Regions from separate parts of the Homo sapiens genome. Here region 2 is linked to region 1. The links are contacts of gene promoters, found by promoter capture Hi-C in human tissues and cell types (Jung and others, 2019). All regions are on one chromosome and are shown on one strand. Each heading gives the region's core, a stretch centred on a gene start or on the middle of the fragment in contact. The rest is flanking DNA. Distances are from core to core; before and after follow the strand shown.

Region 1 (6,011 bases), core at 3,259-5,758:
TGTCTCCTCAGCCTCCCTGTCCCCACCTCCTCTTCTTGGCTGTGGCCTCGTTTTTGACCTGTATCCCCACTTCCCTGCTGCCCTGTCTCTCATTACTGCTAATACTAATGCCTCGTCTCTGTGCCCCCCATCTCTGCCTCACTTCCTGTCACTTAAGCCCCCATCTTTGGCCCACCTCAGGTGCCTACTGCCACCTCTGCACTGTCCCTGGAGCTGCAGGAAGTGGAGCCCCTGGGGCTACCCCAAGCCTCCCCTAGCCGCACTCGTTCCCCTGATGTCATCTCCTCAGCTTCCACTGCCCTGTCCCAGGACATCCCTGAGATTGCATCTGAGGCCCTGTCCCGTGGTTTTGGCTCCTCTGCACCAGAGGGCCTTGAGCCAGACAGTATGGCTTCAGCCGCCTCGGCACTGCACCTGCTGTCCCCACGGCCCCGGCCAGGGCCCGAGCTCGGCCCCCAGCTCGGGCTTGATGGAGGCCCTGGGGATGGAGATCGGCATAATACCCCCTCCCTCCTGGAGGCAGCCTTGACCCAGGAGGCCTCGACTCCTGACAGTCAGGTTTGGCCCACAGCACCTGACATTACTCGTGAGACCTGCAGCACCCTGGCAGAAAGGTGAGGAGCTTGGGAGGGGAAAAGTGTGCTAGCAGGAGGGGCTTCAGATAGATTCATCCATGGCTAAGTTGGCCTGTCCTCCCAGCCCCAGGAATGGCCTTCAGGAAAAGCACAAGAGCCTGGCCTTCCACCGACCACCATATCACCTGCTGCAGCAACGTGACAGCCAGGATGCCAGTGCTGAGCAAAGGTGGGAGCCACTCTACACCATTGCCCTCATGGGGGGATGGGCAGCAAGTGGGCAGGGGCTTACTCCTCCTTCCCCTTCCCACAGTGACCATGATGATGAGGTGGCCAGCCTTGCCTCTGCTTCAGGAGGCTTTGGCACCAAAGTTCCTGCTCCACGGCTGCCTGCCAAGGACTGGAAGACCAAGGGATCCCCTCGAACCTCACCCAAGCTCAAGAGGAAAAGCAAGAAGGATGATGGGTAGGGAGAAATCCTAGGGAGGGAGAGGGTGGTCTCTAGGCTGCCTCACATAGCCTGAGGTGCTTCTCGCCTATGGCAGGGATGCAGCCATGGGATCCCGGCTCACAGAGCACCAGGTAAGTGAATGAGCCCACTTTGTACTTGTGGAACTTCACCCTGGGCGGGTGGAGAAGGGCTCTGGGCCATTCCCTGGTCTGGTGTGTGGGAATAGGTGGGGCAGGCATCGTGTGACTGTCAGTGCTACTGACAGGTGGCAGAGCCCCCTGAGGACTGGCCAGCACTAATTTGGCAACAGCAGAGAGAGCTGGCAGAGCTGCGGCACAGCCAGGAAGAGCTGCTGCAGCGTCTGTGTACCCAACTCGAAGGCCTGCAGAGCACAGTCACAGGCCACGTAGAACGTGCCCTTGAGACTCGGCACGAGCAGGAACGTATCCTTGAGACTGGTAGCACAACATGGCATAGGGACGGGGGCAGCATTCTTGGCCTGGGAAGGAGTACACGACCTGCTCCAGGCCCGTTCCTTAGCTATGGCGCAGAGCGGCGGCTGGAGCGAGCACTGGCTGAGGGGCAGCAGCGGGGAGGGCAGCTGCAGGAGCAGCTGACACAACAGTTGTCCCAAGCACTGTCGTCAGCTGTAGCTGGGCGGCTAGAGCGCAGCATACGGGATGAGATCAAGAAGACAGTCCCTCCATGTGAGTTTTGCATGCAGACTCCCTTTGGGTGGTTCAGGTGGGAGTGGGGTACCTGTCAAGCTTCTTCTCATGGCTCCACCTCACCCTCTTCCCCTCTCCCAGGTGTCTCAAGGAGTCTGGAGCCTATGGCAGGCCAACTGAGCAACTCAGTGGCTACCAAGCTCACAGCTGTGGAGGGCAGCATGAAAGAGAACATCTCCAAGCTGCTCAAGTCCAAGGTGCTATAGGGCCCAAGATGTGGGTGGAGGTGGTGGTTCCTGGGCCTAGTCAGGCCAGGCTGGGCTCAGGCTTTCAACTTGGCCCCTCCCTCTAACCCCAGAACTTGACTGATGCCATCGCCCGAGCAGCTGCAGACACATTACAAGGGCCGATGCAGGCTGCCTACCGGGAAGCCTTCCAGAGTGTGGTGCTGCCGGCCTTTGAGAAGAGCTGCCAGGCCATGTTCCAGCAAATCAATGATAGCTTCCGGCTGGGGACACAGGAATGTGAGTGGGGTCATATGGCCCAAGGTGGGAGGGGTTATCCTCTTTCCTACTGTTCCTCTTATAGTCCCTGTGGTCACCCCTCAGACTTGCAGCAGCTAGAAAGCCACATGAAGAGCCGGAAGGCACGGGAACAGGAGGCCAGGGAGCCTGTGCTAGCCCAGCTGCGGGGCCTGGTCAGCACACTGCAGAGTGCCACTGAGCAGATGGCAGCCACCGTGGCCGGCAGTGTTCGTGCTGAGGTGCAGCACCAGCTGCATGTGGCTGTGGGCAGGTGTGTGGGCAGAGTACTGGGCAAGGTGGTGGGCTTGAGAAAGGCCAGACTAGGCTCCCTGTCCACTTCACCTCACTCACTTCCCTTTGCAGCCTGCAGGAGTCCATTTTAGCACAGGTACAGCGCATCGTTAAGGGTGAGGTGAGTGTGGCGCTCAAGGAGCAGCAGGCCGCCGTCACCTCCAGCATCATGCAGGCCATGCGCTCAGCTGCTGGCACACCTGTCCCCTCTGCCCACCTTGACTGCCAGGCCCAGCAAGCCCATATCCTGCAGCTGCTGCAGCAGGGCCACCTCAATCAGGCCTTCCAGCAGGTACGATAGGCATTAGGCCCTGCTAAGGGTCACGTGTCTCTTGACAAGGCCCACATACCATACATTCTACTCCACCCACCACCTTTGCACCTTCTGGCCCCAGCAGACTGTTCTTGGTTCCCTTTGGCCTCCAGGCCATTGTCCCTGCTGCTTCCTCTTCCTGGACCCCTTTCTTCCCACCTAGCCCACCTTGCTTTACAACTACCCTTCTCAGGAACCCATTTCCCAATCCCCTAGGGTAACTACACAGCCCTACAGGCTCTCTCTGAGTCCCTCTGGAGCTCTCACTAGCCCACCCTGTGGTCATCCTCCCCCAGGCCACACAGTTCAGACAAGCAGACATTCCATCCTGATATTTGCTATAAACACTGCTGCTTTTTTCTCCTCCAGGCGCTGACAGCTGCTGACCTGAACCTGGTGCTGTATGTGTGTGAAACTGTGGACCCAGCCCAGGTTTTTGGGCAGCCACCCTGCCCGCTCTCCCAGCCTGTGCTCCTTTCCCTCATCCAGCAGCTGGCATCTGACCTTGGCACTCGAACTGACCTCAAGCTCAGGTAAGTGGGGACAGCCAGGGATGGGGAGATGAGCTGGGGAGTGGGGCAGTGGGAGGGAGCAGTTTGAAGCTGACGCCCACTTCTGCCTGAATCCTCTCCCTAATTTTCTCCACCAGTCCTTTCTGCCTTCACCCAGAGGGTTCCCTCTGGGCCTCGGTGCCACCAGGGGGCGCTCCCGTCTGCTGGCACCCACCTGTAGCCTGTCCTTTCCCCCCCATCCCCAGCTACCTGGAAGAGGCCGTGATGCACCTGGACCACAGTGACCCCATCACTCGGGACCACATGGGCTCCGTTATGGCCCAGGTGCGCCAAAAGCTTTTTCAGTTCCTGCAGGCTGAGCCACACAACTCACTTGGCAAAGCAGCTCGGCGTCTCAGCCTCATGCTGCATGGCCTCGTGACCCCCAGCCTCCCTTAGCTGCTAAGCCTGCCTTGCCCAGGGGTGGGATGGCACTGAAGGCCAGCAGACAGGCCTAGGCTGGGGCAGGGTCACGGCTGGCCTTTACCTGCTCAGGCCCCCATCTCTGGGGTGTTTGGGGGTCAGGGAGCAGGGAGCACTGGCCGTGGTCTACAGCGTGTGGTAGTCAGAAGGTTTAGCTGGGCCCAGGGCAGGTATTGCGCCTGCTTGGGTTCTGCCATGCCTGGAGCATGACCCTGAGATCGTGACACCACTTGAGTGGAATTTTCCATGTTCCTTTTTACCTCTAATTTGGATCTTTTTGTTTTTGAAAAACATTGAGAAATTCAATTAAATGCTTTTGGAATAAAATGGAGTATGTGTGTGCTTTTGGTTTGTCTTTGGTGTGACTCTCATAACTGCCGTCTGTTCGTTCTCTGCCCATCTCTTGCCCGTGGAGCTCTGTCGAGGCCAACCCAGCCAAGGGGCCGGGTTACCCACTCATCTGCTCCAACTGCCTTCCCAGATCTCCCTTCTCCCTCCTTCTATGGAGTGAGGGTCCAGGGGCCTGCCCAGCACCAGCCTGTGCTCCTGCGAATTTCTGCTCTCTGAGGTCTCCTCGCTCCTTTTCCCATCTGGGTGTTGGAGGCGGAGCCGCCGGCTGGGTTCGGAGCCCCACCCCCAGCTCCCATCCAATCACCGTCCCTCCCTCCGGGGGCTGGGCGGACGGGCTGCACTCCAAGCAGCTAGCTCCTGCACTAGGCTCTCAGCCAGGGATGATGCGCTGCTGCCGCCGCCGCTGCTGCTGCCGGCAACCACCCCATGCCCTGAGGCCGTTGCTGTTGCTGCCCCTCGGTGAGTGCGGGCATCCGGGGCCCGGGCCACACCCCCTTCTCGCCCAGCCAAGCCAGGCTGGGCATAGGGTGTGTGGGAACGCTGGGTGCCAGGGTGGAGAAGAGTTGTAAGGGCTCCAGGAAGGTGTGCTGGTGACTTCAGGACAGAAAGTGAGAGGCACAAACAGCCCCAGTTATGGGAGAAGGACTCCAAAATTTGCATCCCCTCTTATGATAAAGGGAGACATGCCAATGGCAGGACTTATAGACCAGTCGTAGGATCCCTAAGTCCTCTCTGAGGGTCTGGCCTGGATCCCAATACCTCTGCATCCTGCCTTGTCTCTCCAAAAATATTTATCTTTAGAGAGAGTTCGGAGGGCCAAGCAAAGCTTGTCTAAACCGCAGAGAGATGCACCTGCTCCTGGTCCGGGGCCTCTGGACCTCCCTCCCCTCCACCCTGTCCTGACTCCTTTACATGGACCCTTGTCACCCCACCTGCGGCCCCAGAAGCTCAAAGGAAGAGCTGACCTGGGGTACACAACACCCCCTTCCCCTGTACAAATCCCAGTCTGGGTCCTACCTTGAAGGGGGCCTGGGTAGGTAATCCCCAGACTTGCCCTTTAGTTCCCTGGGGCACCCTTTTTCCGCTGAGTCACATCCCCAGAGTGCTCCCAGGTAAACAAGCCCCTGGGGGCTGGGGGATGAGCCTGGCTCATCCTATCTACCATTCCTTCCCCACCCCACCCCCGCCCCACTTCTAGTCCTTTTACCTCCCCTGGCAGCAGCTGCAGCGGGCCCAAACCGATGTGACACCATATACCAGGGCTTCGCCGAGTGTCTCATCCGCTTGGGGGACAGCATGGGCCGCGGAGGCGAGCTGGAGACCATCTGCAGGTACCGGCGGGTGTGAGGCAGTGGCCCAACCTGTGCCACCATTGGGGACTGAACCTTTTATTTCCCAAGCTAAAGTCTCCTTGCCTCACCTAATCCCCCTAATCCCACTCCCTTAACAGGTCTTGGAATGACTTCCATGCCTGTGCCTCTCAGGTCCTGTCAGGCTGTCCGGAGGAGGCAGCTGCAGTGTGGGAATCACTACAGCAAGAAGCTCGCCAGGCCCCCCGTCCGAATAACTTGCACACTCTGTGCGGTGCCCCGGTGCATGTTCGGGAGCGCGGCACAGGCTCCGAAACCAACCAGGAGACGCTGCGGGCTACAGCGCCTGCACTCCCCATGGCCCCTGCGCCCCCACTGCTGGCGGCTGCTCTGGCTCTGGCCTACCTCCTGAGGCCTCTGGCCTAGCTTGTTGGGTTGGGTAGCAGCGCCCGTACCTCCAGCCCTGCTCTGGCGGTGGTTGTCCAGGCTCTGCAGAGCGCAGCAGGGCTTTTCATTAAAGGTATTTATATTTGTAGTAAGCTCCTTCCTTTCTC
Region 2 (6,579 bases), core at 3,507-6,006, 150 kb before region 1:
AAGCTGCTGGCCAACTGGGCAGCTCCAGGGGTCTGAGTATGCCAGCAGGCTGAAGGCATCCTACAGGACAGGGCATTCTTGAGAGGACTGTGGCACACACCATAGCTCACCCTGCTACCCGTGGCTCCAGAGGGAGACAGGGCCCTGCATGATGCCCAGCCTGGAATGTGGGGTGTAGGGTCGGGCAGGGCTGTACTCTCCCCAGAGCCTAGGTGTGGAGGGCACATGTCCAGTGGGCCCAGATGCCCCACTTCCCTCTGCAGACCTGGCTGGAGCCCACTCTTTCCTGCTGCCCCCTGGACTCTCCCAGAGCCACCCTGCCCCCAACACCAAATGGGGCCTGCTCTGCATGAGGCCCGGCTCATCCTGTACCTGCAGCATCTCTGTGTGGGCCAAATTCTTGCCGTACTCCCGGCCCAACTGCTCACTCAATGCCTGCAACTCGCGGCCAAACAGAATGATCCTTTCTGTGGCAGCCTGGTTGCCCCCGCAGAGCTGCCGCCGAGGATGCCTGTCATCTGCATCCAGAACCCAGTGGAGAACGTGTTAGGAGGGGTGAAGAGGGAAGGGCAGGACTAGGGTGGGGCAGGAAGGACCCCGGGTGGGCTGCAGCTTCTGCCAGAGGCAGGCAGGGCTGGGAGGAACAGGTGAGGCAGCTACAGTCAAGGCGTTCTTCTCTTCATTCACCTGGCGCACAGTCTAGGATTTAGGGAGGACTTGGAAGTTGTCCCTCTTCCCAGCCTGCACAGACGCAGGGTGCTCATTAGGGTGCCCATGCTCTCGAACACCCTCCAGCCTCAAACATAGGTGGTCTTGGCACAGGCCAGGGCCTTCGTACATTTGGAGCCACCTCAAGGACCCATTCACAATCGGCTAAGGAGGCTGTGGACCAGGTCTGGCTGAAGCTTCTCAAGATGCCAAAGCCTGCCTACCCCAGCCCCTCCCAGGGGAAGAGGGCACCCAGACTGCACACTGCCCTCAAAGAATAGCACACCGGGCCGTGGCTCTCACCCATGCTGGACTCATCCGTCTGCAGGTCCTCATGCTTGTAGGCACCATTAACAATGCGTGTGGACATGCTTCCTAGCACACCGTTGGGGTAGTGCTCTGCCTCCATCTCCATCTCACTGTCGCTGTGGGGAGGGGTTGAGGTGGGAGTTGGCCCAGGGGGTGTGGTTGGAGCAGCCTGGTTGGGCCTCCTTTCAAGCTGTAGCCATGGGTTGCTGTGGGTGAACCGAGGACCCCCAGGAACATGAAAGGACAGCTCAGGCTTCCAAGTCTTCAGCACTTGGCCCCTACTGTGACACCAGCTATCCTCAGAGGCCTGTCACCTGATTCCCACCCTTGCCCCAGTGCTGCCTCTGTGATTCTCCCCTCCCTGGCCCTCCTCTGAGTTCACACACCTCTTCTACATATCCCCCAACCTAATGACTGGGCCCCATGGCCCCCATGGGCAGCTCTGTGGCCTTGGTTGGAAGCCAAACTCAGGTCAGCCTTGAGGTGTACCTGGGGATGCTGAGAGCCACCTAGAGCTCTAGCCTGCGGCTTAGCTTCCCCTGCCTGCCCAACCTGGCTGTCTACAAGCCAGAGCCAGGGAAAGCTCCCTCATGATGGACCCTGAGGGTTCTCACAGGCCCGGCCTCTTTGGAGGAGACCACATCCTCAGCCTGGCATCATTGGAGCCTCTGGAGAAAGCCAAGGCCAAAGAAAGTGCAGCTAAATCGTGGGGAGGGCCAGAAGCCAGAGCTGATGTCTGGCCCGGTGGGCCAAAAATTAGGACTCCAGGCACAGACCTGAGATGGAGGCTGGGGGTGAAGGGCAGGGCGCTCAAAGGACAGACTGCAATGGGCCCAGCTGGCATAAGGCAGAAGGCAGAGGAGGAAGCAGAGCAAGGCAGGCACCTGGTCTCCTGGTTACTGGTACTGCTGTGGTGCTGGGACTTGGTGGAGTCTGTTGAGTTGGACTCGGAGTAATTGACGGAGGATGGGGAAGAGGACGAGGAGGAGGAGGAGGACGAGGATGAGGAGCTGGGTGCAGGGTATTTACTGTGGTTCTGTTTGCTCTTGGTGGACGCGACGCCATTGCTACAGCTGGGACTGTCTGCTCCTAGAAGCCAGGGTGACAGTCAGAAGAGGAGGGGCAGCTTCCCATGAAATGAAGCCCCAAGAACAACCACAGTGGTCCCATTTCCCTTCTCCCAAATCCAGCAGTGAGCCCTGAGCCCAGCCCAGGAAAGGGTATGTGGAGTGGCCTCTCTCCTCCACACCAGTTCTTCCCAGAGCCCTCTGGAGAGTGGCTGACCTGTGTTGTGCATGTGGGAACTACTGGGGCCATGTCGGGGACTGAGGCTGGGGGAGCCAGGGTAGCTGTCCTGGGACTTGGGGCTTCGGGAGCTCAAACTTCGGACCTCACTGTCCGTCCCATTCACCATCTCCACAAACTGCCGGCACCTGTGGAGGGAGCGGAGCAATAATGCTCTGGTTGTGGTCCAGGTTGACGTTCCCACCACCAGCTGAGAGGGGCTGGACTCTGGGGGAGCTGGGGGTGCCCAAGACTTACTTGAGCATGAAGAGGAGGTTGGGGTTGTGCTCCAGCAGCCCTGGGTAGAAGCGCTGGGTGGTCTCGATGGCCTCGCCCACACGGCCCTCCAGCACCAGCTTCTGGATCTCTGCAGGGTGCAAGAACACAGCAGTGAGCGAGGGCTACAGGCCTCTCCCACAGCCACACACCTGGGATGCTGCCAGCCTCAGGGTAGGGTCCGGCTCAGAGTGCCTCGCCAGCTTGAAATGCTCACAGGAGAGGAGGCTGGAGAAAGAACCTGACTGCCCAGCCCAACAGATCCTGGTTTCTGCCAAGTGTCAGAGAGTCCTCAAGAATATGGGGAAGATGGAGGGGAGACTCTCAGCCCAAAGGCAGGAGGGTAAATGTGGAGGTCTGCTCCTGCGGGGCACATGGTGCCAGGGACCTGGGGGCAGGGTAGGGCCCCAGCTGGGGCAACATGATCTGGGGATGGGCACCCAGGCAGCTTGGCGGCCTGAGTGGCTCCTCTTCAGACAGACTCCTCTCCTTCCAGGCCTCACAGGGGAATGGCAATGGAATCACACTGGTTTCTGACCAGGGCTCTGGCTGGTGGTCTTCAGGGGCTGCAGCATGCCCCCTGCTGGGAGAGGAGGCCATCCTCCTCATGCTGGCACCTCTGATGTTGACACCTCTCACGCCATCAGCATCTTGCTGCTGCCTTTTCGCTCTTGCCGTGGGGCCTGGTGCATCTCGCTGGGAGCAACTTCAGAGTCTGAGGCTCTCATTCATAGATCCCAAGTCTGGGATCCCTTTCCGTCTGTCTGGCTGAGCACAGCTTCTCTGGGAGACAGACACGTGCACATACAGAAGAGACAGCAGGCTTGGAGAGGGGTAGGCAGGCACTCACAGACACGCATATCCACACCCACTTGCCCTCATTCTCCTTTTCTCCTTCTAGCTCCTCACTGGGCTCCTTTTCCTCTTTTCCAACACCCCTCCTTCCGTGAAAGAGCCTCCAGACACACAGCATCCAGGCCAGCATCAACACTGGGAGAGCTCTGGCCAAGGGAGGACTTTAGGTTGTCTGCAAAGGGCAGGACCAGTGGTGGGGAGCAGAGGGTAGTGCCCCCACAGCAGCCATTGAGCACTGGCTTTGCCCTATCTGACCACTTCAGTCCCCTCTCTGGCTAGGAATAAGCAGAACTACTAAGGCAGGCAAACAGCCTTCCTGGAAGACCATGAACAGGAGGTTGAGAGGAATCCAGGATTCAGGGGGAAGGAAACAAGCAGGGAGGAAATGGAGGAATGGAACCAGCCATGCCAGGGCCTGGCCTGCGCCCAGCCTTCAGAATGTGCATTAGGGAGGCTGCCCTGAGACGTCTCCATCCTGCCAACTGTCCATCTGGGCAGTGCCATCTTGAAGGTGGGACAGGAACATGGCCTCGAGCTGCAAGCTGGTCATGAGGACCAGAGCTGAATGGACTCCTGACAGGTTAACCAGGGTTGACATGAGCCAGAGAGCAGAGTTAGGGACAGGTGAGGAAGGGAAAGGGGAAAGTAGAATAAACCTTACTTTGTCTGTTCTTTATGGACGCCTGTTCTTCCTGAATCGGGGTTTCAGTCATTCGAGCAAAAGCCGTGGCTGTGGCACAATACCCATGATGCACGAGGTAAGATGAAACCATGCTAGAAGAAAGGAAGAGCTTCAGGTGACACTCAAGAACTGCACTTCTCACTGACTACCCAATGGACTCAGGACAGATTACCTCCCCCAGAGGTCTCCCTAAACACGTCCTGGAGGTGTAACCTCCACAGAATGAGAATAAAGGGGCTGAAACAAAATGAAAACTTCCCCCATGGTGCCCCACGGTCATGAAGTCAGGCTTCGGAGGGGCTGGTCACCACATCTGTGCCCACAGTTCAGAGGAGTGGCTGCAGTTTATCTGAGACATGCTGCCCACAAGTAAGCGAGTATGATAACAGAAGTACACACACAGGCACACTCCTCACAGGTGGCTGCCTCTTTGGGAAATGCAGCAAGCCTAAGAGGCCAATAGTCTCACTGATAGCTTCCCGAAACTGCAGCTAGCCAGGTAATCTGGCAGATTTCCAGACAGGATGCATGCCACATGCACACCTTCTACAGACACAGGAGCCCCTCTGCAGGCTGTGCCATGTACCTGAGAGAAGCATTTCAGCCCTCCAGGTGAACCTGCCCTCAGCAGTTCCAGCTCTAGTGAGTGAGTGATGGGAAGCTAACTCACAACCCAGAGTTACACCATGATACACCACAAATCAGGGGCCCAAGAAGCCAAGCAATCAGGCTGATTTTGCCAGGCAGAGATAGGCAGCAGCAGGGCCAATGGGAACACAGTCATTGGGAAATGGTCTGGAGAAGTCTGACTCCCTGTAGCCATTTAACCCCAGCAGAAGCTGGCTGAACAGTGGCACATGTGTGTACACATATAAAGCAGAGGCTGAACCCTCAAATCTGATGTGTACAGGAGTGAATACCTTGGTGTGTACATGTGTCTGATGTCATTACTGTAACTCTAAACACAAATGTCTGAAGGGTTGTCAGGTGGAAGGCACAGAAGTTTGGGTGTGTGTTCCCTCAAGCTTTAAGGGGTAAATGAGATAATACACATAAAGTACCTGGCAGGAAGAAGTCCATAAATAAGACTTCTTATTATGAAATGATATATTACATAATATTATAGTATAAATAATAATTATCAGCTGGGCGTGATGGCTCATGACTGTCATCCCAGAACTTTGGGAGGACAAGGCGGGAGGATCACTTGAGGCCAGGAGTTCAAGACCAGCCTGGCCAACATTGCAAGATCTCATCTCTACTTTAAAAATATGGCCAGGCGTGGTGGCTCATGCCTGTAATCCCAGCACTTTGGGAGGCTGAGGCGGGCGGATCACAAGGTCAGGAGATCAAGACCATCCTGGCTAATGCGGTGGAATGCCATCTCTACTAAAAAAATACAAAAAAAAATTACGCCCGGGCGTAGTGGCGGGCACCTGTAGTCCCAGCTACTCAGGAGGCTGAGGCAGGAGAATGGCTTGAACCCAGGAGGCGGAGCTTGCAGTGAGCCGAGATTGCGCCACTGCACTACAGCCTGGGCGACAAAGCGAGACTCCATCTCAAAAAAAAAAAAAAAAAAAAAAAATTATTGGCTGCGTGTGGTGGCTCATGCCTGTAATCTCAACACTTTGGGAGGCCGAGGCAGGAAAATCACTTGAGCCCAGAAGTTTGAGACCAACCTGGGCAACATGGCGAAACCCTGTCCCCACAAAAAATACAAAAAATTAGCCAGGTGTGGTGGTGCATGCCTACAGTCCCAGCTACTCAGGAGACTGAGGTAGAAGAATTGCTTGAGCTCAGGAGGTCCATGCTGCAGTGAGCCATGACTGTGTCACTGCACTCCGCCTGGGCAATAGAGTAAACTCCTGACTCAGAAAAAAGTAAAGTAAGTATAATTATTATTATTACACCATATTATTATTATAAACACAAGGGTAAATATGAAAAAGTCTTTATCTACAAGAGGGTTACCTACACAAGTAAAAGAGAAGGAATTACCTGACCTTCCACTAGAGGAAGCCAGCCAAAAGGCTTGTGACAAATTTGTCTCTGTGATAACATAGCCATTATCAATATTCATTAAATGAAGTTATGTAAAACCACAGTACACAAATTATATGCAGGTCTTGGCAAATGCTACATATGAACACATACAAGCACATGGATACACACATGTAAACAAAAACACCTATGTGCTATGCTGGACATGGTAGCACATGCCTGTGATGCCAGCTACTCAGGAGGCTGAGGTGGGAGGATCACTTGAGCCCAGGAGTCCAACCTGGGCAACAAAGTGCGACCCCATCTCAGTATTTTTTTAAAAACCCCAAAACAAAAACACATCCATGTGCTGAGCCTAGGCCCTGAAAACTGAGAGTATCAGTTCCTCCCCTACACAGACTTGGCATCTTCACCCCTCTTCTTGGCAATCCCACCAAGCCTGCTCTGGGAGTGGCGCTGTCCTG

What was found. The method cuts DNA at HindIII sites, captures the fragments that hold promoters and counts their contacts. A contact is called where the count stands out against the background at its distance.
Region 2: a fragment that was not itself captured here is called in contact with the fragment with the promoter of NRN1L in region 1 in 1 of the 25 tissues and cell types used here (IMR-90 fibroblasts).

The regions. Positions count from the first base shown.
Region 1 is chr16:67,880,377-67,886,387 of GRCh38, forward strand. NRN1L (neuritin 1 like) reads left to right here and starts at 4,509. Exons shown (of 3, transcript NM_198443.2): 1 at 4,509-4,606; 2 at 5,346-5,478; 3 at 5,598-5,992. The coding sequence starts at 4,528. The coding sequence ends at 5,883. EDC4 (enhancer of mRNA decapping 4) reads left to right here. Exons shown (of 29, transcript NM_014329.5): 18 at 181-614; 19 at 700-804; 20 at 889-1,041; 21 at 1,121-1,157; 22 at 1,292-1,469; 23 at 1,578-1,733; 24 at 1,836-1,951; 25 at 2,053-2,218; 26 at 2,303-2,489; 27 at 2,582-2,801; 28 at 3,192-3,355; 29 at 3,580-4,123. The coding sequence ends at 3,772. RefSeq lists enhancers at 3,601-3,780, 4,086-4,595, 4,596-5,103. The HindIII fragment of the contact is 2,833 bases long and covers 2,732-5,564 here.
Region 2 is chr16:67,727,379-67,733,957 of GRCh38, forward strand. It overlaps RANBP10 (RAN binding protein 10), which reads right to left. Exons shown (of 14, transcript NM_020850.3): 7 at 4,094-4,206; 8 at 2,560-2,668; 9 at 2,302-2,450; 10 at 1,902-2,106; 11 at 1,012-1,133; 12 at 373-518; 13 at 1-60. Among named protein-coding and RNA genes, the nearest start is that of GFOD2, 11 kb to the left of the region's middle. The HindIII fragment of the contact is 3,468 bases long and covers 3,023-6,490 here.